3 separate regions of the Homo sapiens genome follow, and all the other regions are linked to region 1. Evidence: promoter capture Hi-C in human tissues and cell types (Jung and others, 2019). All regions are on one chromosome and are shown on one strand. The core of a region is centred on a gene start or on the middle of the fragment in contact, and the rest is flanking DNA. Distances in the headings are between cores, read along the strand shown. Region 1 holds the start of SHC4 (SHC adaptor protein 4). Region 2 overlaps SHC4 (SHC adaptor protein 4). Region 3 overlaps SECISBP2L (SECIS binding protein 2 like).

The links. Contacts are between HindIII fragments. The study calls those that stand out against the background at their distance.
Region 2: a contact is called between a fragment that was not itself captured here and the fragment with the promoter of SHC4 in region 1, in 1 of the 25 tissues and cell types used here (bladder).
Region 3: a fragment that was not itself captured here is called in contact with the fragment with the promoter of SHC4 in region 1 in 3 of the 25 tissues and cell types used here (IMR-90 fibroblasts, adrenal gland and aorta).

The regions. Positions count from the first base shown.
Region 1 is chr15:48,962,638-48,965,337 of GRCh38, reverse strand. It overlaps SHC4 (SHC adaptor protein 4), which reads left to right and starts at 1,419. Exons shown (of 12, transcript NM_203349.4): 1 at 1,419-2,700. The coding sequence starts at 2,323. RefSeq lists enhancers at 1,941-2,442, 2,443-2,700. The HindIII fragment of the contact is 15,905 bases long and covers 1-2,700 here.
Region 2 is chr15:48,918,899-48,921,598 of GRCh38, reverse strand. All of the region lies in intron 2 of SHC4 (SHC adaptor protein 4), which reads left to right. Among named protein-coding and RNA genes, the nearest start is that of EID1, 42 kb to the right of the region's middle. The HindIII fragment of the contact is 9,487 bases long and covers 1-2,700 here.
Region 3 is chr15:49,018,247-49,020,967 of GRCh38, reverse strand. It overlaps SECISBP2L (SECIS binding protein 2 like), which reads left to right. Exons shown (of 18, transcript NM_001193489.2): 8 at 1,416-1,550. Among named protein-coding and RNA genes, the nearest start is that of SECISBP2L, 27 kb to the left of the region's middle. The HindIII fragment of the contact is 7,040 bases long and covers 1-2,721 here.

The sequences.
Region 1 (2,700 bases), core at 170-2,669:
CTGCAGTGTGAGGGTTAAGAATATGAGCTTCAAGGGGAGGTAGCTCTGGTTCCAATGGCCATTTTTTCATACTGCCCACATGTACTTAGTGAGATGGGCACTGTATGGAGCATTGGGCCTCGTAAGCCCTCATAACAACCCCATTAGATGGCTGCTGCCAACATATGAGGACATTCAGGCACGGAGAGGTAAAGTAACTTTCTAAAGGGAGCATATAATGAGGTCATCATAGCATAACAGAAGCAACACAGGGACCCAGGGACCCAGGGGAAGGCAGGAAAAATGAGAGGAAGAAAGCAGATGAGGAATGAGGAGGAATGAGAGGTAAATATTCTTGCCCAGAGCCTGTCTCCTCAGCCCCAGGGATGTGGGGTCCAACTGATTTAGCTACTTCCCTCAGTTTTGCCAGGAGGAGATGTAGGGCAGGGAAAAGGAGGTCAACAAGGATTGAAGGGAAGATTTATGAAGATGCAGAAAGGCCTTTCCAGGGAAAGAAATGTCTGAACAGGCTTGGCAGACAGGATGTGATGGGTGCTTTATTTCCCTGGGGGACCAGGGAGCTTGGGAGGAGGATGCCGCTTTCACTGGTCACTCTCAACCATTTAATTCAGAACCTGTGTTTGGATCCCAAGGGAGCTCAGGCTCCCAAAGTCATGAATATACATAAGCCTAATCCAGCATTAGGGACAATAAGATAATGAAGGTGGCACCCTTAATTCCTTTGGTTGCCAGTTTGTCTTAATTTTTTAATTAATGAACAATTTCAGATGTCAAAGCCTTGAGACACGGAGTAATGCAATCTTTTCTGAGAGTTCTTTATCTCTTCCTATGTGTGATTTCCACCCCACCCCGACACCCCACACCCCCAGTGTTTCAGCAGTTTCCTCTTCTCCATTCCTGAAGAACCTGCATTTCCTTTTCCCAGCTCTGGTTTTGGCTTCCTGTGTGCTAAGCCTTTGCAGTTGTCATCATGTCTTCAGGATGCATTTGATAGGTACAGGAAGTCGCACCAGACGGAAGATGGAACCAACAATCAATAAAAAAAGAACTATGTTTCTAAGAAAAATGCATCATGGCTTCCCACAGGAGTTGTGAACCATATGTCCTAATATCCCTGTAACAATGGGTCTAATTTTTAGCTCTTCTGCTCTGCCCTCCCGGCCATCTCAACAAGAAAGAAAATAGATCTTTTAACCTGCTGCTCCCCGGCTAATGATCTGTAGTAAAGATTGCCTTTCCTTTTAACTCATTCATCAGATACCACAAAATAAAATACGTCCCTCCTCTCCCGCTAGCTTTATTTCTCTCGGCTACTAGTTTAGTATATTTATGGTGTATGAGTCATCAAGCTGCCTCCTGATTGGATAAAAACCAAGCACCTCTGAGACCGTCAGTCAATTACAGCTATTCTCAGCTTCATTCACAGATTTATTAGCTTGCACACACACAGAGAAATTCATTCGGCAAAGTTCATTCATAAAAATTTCAACACGCTGCGTATCATCCTGCACATCTCAGCTTTCGGCTGCAAATGGGCTTCTGAAAAAAGCTCCGAGAGGAATCCAGGAGGGAGGGAAGCTCTGAGCGAGGGTAGGCAGGCTGGGAGGGGATCTGAGGAACACGGACCCATCACAAGTCAGTGAAACAATGCGGAGCAGCGCCCGTCAGTAGTACTCCTGGCTGGTGGCCCAGAACGGGATGCAAGACAAGATCTTCCAAGAGAGGGCAGCCTTTGGAATCAACGAACCCAGGCAAAAGGGCCTTTGGTTCATAGATACATTTTTTTTTCCTTTTTAAATGAACAATCACTGGAACAAATAAAGGGTTAATAGGCCAGTCATTTGCCCCGCCCTGTGAGAGCCGAAGGGAGCAGGTTCGAAAGTTCCTGTGTGCAGAACAGAAGGCTGGGGTGAGGGTGGGAGTCGGGTGCTAAATATTTCTACTAGGCTCCTGCAAGGCTAGTGATGCAGCGGGCCCCCCGACCGGCGCTCGCCCGGGTTCTGCGCCTAAGAGTTGGCCGTGAGCGACCCGCGCCGCCGGGAGCCTGGGTCTAGGCTCTCCCGACAAGGATTCCAAGGCGAGAACACTGGTGCCTCTGCCTGGGCCAGGGAGAGACTGAAATCAGAGCAGGGGAGGCGTTTCCCCCATGGGCTGTCACCCTTAAGGGGCCGGGAGCCGAGGTGGGCGAGCTCGAGAGCAGAGTTGGAGAGGTGGCTGCTGTGAGTTGCATCGGGCGTTGAGGTATCTGATGTCTGCACCGTTTATCTACCAGACGACGAGGCGATTTATGCAACAGTATCCTGTTTCAGCACTGCCAAGGCTATGCGAGAACGCGGCCAGGACAGCCTGGCAGGACTCGTGCTGTATGTAGGACTCTTCGGGCACCCCGGGATGCTGCACAGGGCCAAGTACAGCCGCTTTCGGAACGAGTCGATCACGTCCTTGGACGAAGGTAGCTCCGGAGGCTCGGTCGGGAACAAGGGCTCGCCGCAGCCTCCCCACCCCGCCCTGGCACCTCACCTGCCGACTGAAGATGCCACCTTGCCGTCGCAGGAGAGCCCCACCCCACTGTGCACCTTGATCCCCCGCATGGCAAGCATGAAGCTGGCCAACCCGGCCACTTTGCTGAGTCTGAAAAACTTTTGCCTGGGTACCAAAGAGGTGCCTCGGCTGAAGCTCCAGGAAAGCCGGGACCCAGGT
Region 2 (2,700 bases), core at 149-2,648, 44 kb after region 1:
CACTGGGAGGCTGAGGCAGATGGATCACTTGAGGTCAGGGATTTGAGATCACCTGATCAACATGGTGAAACCCTGTTTCTACTAAAAAAATACAAAATTAGCCAGGCATTGTGGCACACACCTGTAATCCCAGCTACTTGGGAGGCTGAGGCAGGAGAATTGCTTGAACCCGGGAGGCGGAGGTTGCAGTGAGCCGAGATTGCACCATTGCACTCCAGACTGGGCAACAAGAGCAAAACTCCATCTCAAAGGAAAAAAAAAAAAAAACGATAACTTCCCATTTCCTCTTCCTCCCCAGCCCCTGGCAACCACTGTTCTACTTTTTGTGTCTATGGATTTGACTGGTCTAGGTACCTCATAAAAGTGGAAACATACAGTATTTGTCCTTTTCTGTCTGGCTTATTTCCTTTAGCACAATGTATTCAAGATTAATTCATCTTGTAGCATGTGTCAGAATTTCATTCGTTTTTAAGGCTCAATACTACTCTCTATTGTACGTCTATACTACATTTTGTCTATTCATCCATCAGTCAATAGATAAATGGGTTGTTTTTCTAAAATTTTAATGACTGCATAACATTCTCTTCTCTTCCTCTGCCTCTTCCTCCTCCTCCTCCTCCTTCTCCTTCTTCTTCACCTTCTTCTCCTTCTCCTTCTCCTCCTTCTTCTTCTTCATATATAGAGACAAGAGTCTCGATATGTTGGCCAAGCTGATCTTAACTTCTGGGCTCATGGGATCCTCCCACCTCAGACTTCCAAAGTGCTGGGATTACAGGCATGATCCACCATGCCTGGCCTCTTCTATTTTTCATCATTATAAGTAATGCTGTGATTAACATCATATATATATCTTGATTATATTTCCAAAGGACAAATTCTAGAATTAGGATCACTAGGTCAAACAATATAAATGTTTTAAAGGCTTTTGATATGTATTGCTGGATGGCTCTGCAGTCTATTTGTACTAATTGGTACCCCCTTTTCCCAGCCATTTATCTATTTTTATCTACTTAAAAAAATCTCTGGCCGGGCGCGGTGGCTCATGCCTGTAATCCCAGCATTTTGGGAGGCTGAGGCAGGCAGAATAATTTGTAGATTTTTATTTTTACATACAACTAGAAACCTACCAAGTAAGATATAGGAAGTTACTAATGTTAAGAATTTGTAAATTAAAATGAGTGCATTATTCGGGTTTATCAAGAATGATCATTCATCACTCAGATGTGCAATATTACAAAGCTCCTGCTCATGCACAGTTGAAGGTAATTGGAATTCCCATGCCAGGCGCAGTGGCTCACGCCTGTAATCCCAGCACTTTGGGAGGCCGAGGCGGGCAGATCATGAGGTCAGGAGATCGAGACCATCCTGGCTAACACAGTGAAACCCCATCTCTACTAAAAATACAAAAAAAAAAAAATTAGCCAGGCGTGGTGGCAGGTGCCTGTAGTCCCAGCTACTCAGGAGGCTGAGGCAAGAGAATGGCGTGAACCCGGGAGGCGGAGCTTGCAGTGAGCCAAGATCGTGCCACTGCACTCCAGCCTGGGTGACAGAGCAAGACTCCGTCTCAGAAAAAAAAAAAAAAACAAACTCCGTGAACTTGTAGGCCTATATTTCCCTATTATTTTGTAAATAGTAAAAGGTGAACTGTTTTTTTTTTCCCCTCTCCTTTGAGGATTCAGTTATGTCTAACATACACACCAAGGGGAAGATATCTGGTATGGTATCTGGATATTGTTTCTTGTAGATGTGTCTATACATGATTCAGGCATGGCTGATTGTGTTCTAAGCAGTTATGGAAGCTCGAGTGTGATGGTCTTTTACTTTTAGATCTGGTGGTCAGGAAGTCCTATCTAAGGAGAGGACATTTGAGCTAGGGCCTGAATAAAGTAAGGGATCCAGCCATGAAAGTATCTGAAAGAAGAGAGCTGAAGGCAGAGGGAAGATGACCATGGACATCATGGGTCCATGGTGGCAACATTTGGGCAGGGAGTTTGATAAAAATGTGAGAGAGGTCAGGCATGGTGGCTCACACCTGTAGTCCCAGCACTTTGGGAGGCCAAGGTGAGAGAATCATTTGAGTCTTGGAGTTTGAGACCAGCCTGAGCAACAGAGTGAAATCCCATCTCTACCAAAAATAAAGCATGGTAGTGCAAGCCTGTAGTCCCAGATATGCTATAGGCCAAGGTGGGAGGATCACCTGAGCCTGGAAGGTCAAAGCTGCAGTGAATTGTGACCACACCACTGCACTCCAGCCCAGGTGACAGAGCAAGACCCCATCTCTACAAAAAAAAAAAAAAAAAAAATTAAAATAAATTTTTAAGAGTGTGAGAGGGTGTGCATCTTCTCCCAAGAGTGGATGCAAAAACATTCAACCGTCAACTCAGGAGAGGGAAACGCTGACTGGAGGGGAGGATCAAATTTTAAAATGTCCTATGGTGTCAAGTGGTCCTACTTGAAGTCTGGAGATTCCAGCCACCAGTAGACTAGGGACCTTATCCAGGGAGGTCTTGAAAGCAGTGAGGCTGATTTCCAAGTGCCAGGGCCAGACATCAGTCCCTTGCTTCAAAATCCTGTCCCCATCCCAGCTTCTTGAACTATTTCCCTGGGGCTTGTTGAATTTGAAATGCTGTGACTTGCAGCTACTTGGGTGTGACAGCAGACCTGGGAAGCCCTGACCCAGAAGGGAGAAGGAAAAACCCC
Region 3 (2,721 bases), core at 182-2,681, 56 kb before region 1:
CATACAATGATAATACTAATTTATGTGATTTAATAAAAGCTTATTCTCTTAAATCTTGGAAACAAGATTTGTATTAAATTATTCTCCTAATTGTTTTATCTATTTTATAAAAAAATAAACTGCAAGTATCAGAAGACTTACAGTAGTTAAATTAAAGAGTAGCTGGGCACGGTGAATCATGCCTGTAATCCCAGCACTTTGGGAGGCGAGGCAGGAGGATCCCTTGAGCCCAGGAGTTGCAGACCAGCCTGGACAATATAGGTAGACCCTGCTTCTACAGAAAATAAAAAAAATTAGCTGGGTGTGGTGGTGCACACCTGTGGTCCTAGTTGTTTGGGAGGCTGAGGTGAAAGAATCACTTGTGCCCAGGAGGTTGAGGCTGCAGTGAGCTGTGATCACACTACTGCACTCCTGCCTGGGTGACAGAGTAAGATCCTAACTGAAAAAGTAATGTAAAAAGCCAGGCATGTGACTCATGCCTTAATCTCAGTACTTTGAGAGGCCAAGGTGGGAAGATTGCTTGAAGTCAGCAGTTTGAGACCAGCCTGGGCAACATAGCGAGACCCCTGTCTCTACAAAAATACAAATAAAACAATTAGCTGGGTGTGGTGGCATGTGCTTGTAGTCCCAGCTACTTGGGAGGCTGAGGCAAGAGAATCACTCGAGCCTAGGTGTTCAGGCTGTAGTGAGCTATGATCAAGCCACTGCACTCCAGCCTGGGCAACAGAGCAAGATCACGTCTCTAAAAAAAATAAGCAAGTAATATGCAGTTTCCCCCCTGTGGTAACATCTTGCAAAACTATAGTGCAATATCACACCCAGATATTGGCCTCGATACAGTCAAGATGCAGAACAGATCCATCATCACAAGGACCCTCCTGTTGGCTTTCATAGCCACACCAACTGCTCCTTATCCCCTAGAATCCACTGATCTATTCTCCCTTTCTAATTTTGTTGTTTCAATAATTTTGTATGCCTTCATACAGTCTTTTTGGGATTGGCCTTTTTCACTTCCATGGTTCTCTGGTTGTTGAGTTTATCAATACTGTAGTTTATTCCTTTTTGTGGTTGATACAGACTTCTATACTATGATCTGGATATGCCACAGTTAGTTTAACTGTTCACCCACTGTAGAACATCTGGTTTGTTTCCTGTTTTCACTTTTGTGAATAAAGCTGCTAATAAATATTCATGTCGAGGGGAAAAAAGCAATGTGGATTAATTGTCTCATTTTTCTATTTTTCTTATAAGTACCTTACTTGTCAGAAACTTGATCTTTAAAATAAGTGATGCACTTGGTGAAAATTTATTGAGTTGTACACTTGCGTGTACTTTTCTGCCAGTATGTTATATATTTGAGTGAAACATTTATTTAAAAATAATTAGATTTTTTTTCCCCTCTGGGGTTTACTTAGGTTGGATTCAGATGCCGAGGACACAGTACTTCCTCAGAAAGAAGACAGAATTTGCAAAAGAGACCAGATAATAAGCATTTAAGCTCTAGTCAATCCCATAGAAGCGATCCAAATTCTGAGTCTTTATATTTTGAGGTATTTTTTTCAAACTCTATTTGTAAGCTGTTATAGGAAATGTTCCCATTAAGAAATTAATTTGTTACATTGTGAACATTGTGAGTACTTTTTATGTCTTAACATGTGATTCTAGTATTAAATTATAAATTACTCAGAAGTATTAACTCATTTTTGTCTTGGTTATATATATTTAATCTAACATTAATTTTACTGATGTTTATTTTTATAAATTTTTGTCCTGTGTGTTCATCATTTAGGGGGTAATGTATAGAGGTAGAACTTGATTTCATGTGGACTTTATTTAGTATGGAGCTTTTTCACTTAATTTTTGTTGTTATTCAATCCATTTGAAAGGCTTTTCAGATTTGAGTAGTTCAGTCTAGTTAAGTTGTGCTGCCAGCCAGGAGAATTTTAGAGAAGGAAGAAAAATGTTTTACTTTCTCTGATAGACAGTTCATATCCTAATTGCACTGTTATTCATCTAACAGATTCTTACTGGTGGTCTAGTATATGTGTGCAGTAAGGTGCTCTGAATGATACATTAAGGTGAATAGACCTGCTATCTTTGGGAAAGTTGCTGTGTAGTAGAAGAACATAGGCATATACACACCTAATACTTAGTTGAGTGTGGTTAGAGTTGAGCGCAGAGACAGGTCACTTTGGGTTTGTGGCAGGGTAGGTAACATTTGAAATGAATTTAAAAAACAAGTAGAATTTGTATGTGTCAAGATGTTTTTCACCACACATCTCCGGTAACTCATTTGAGTAACTCATTTTGGTTGGATCATAAATTCTATTGAATGAGTTAATAGATGGGAGGTTAAACTGGAAAACTTGCTTGAGGTCAGAGGATAGAAATCAATAATATGCTGGGCGTGGTGGCTAATGCCTGTAATCCCAGCACTTTGGGAGGCCAAGCAGATCACCTGAGGTCAGGATCACTTGAGGTCAGGAGTTCGAGACCAGCCTGGCCAACGTGGTGAAACCCCATCTCTACTAAAAATACAAAAAGTTAACTGGGCATGGTGGCGGGTCCCTGTAATCCCAGCTAACTGGGAGGCTGAGGCAGGAGAATTGCTTGAACCCAGGAGGTGGAGGTTGCAGTGAGCCGAGATTGTGCCATTGCACTCTATCCTGGGCAACAATAGTGAAACTCCATCTCAAAAAAAAAAAAAAAAATCAATAATAT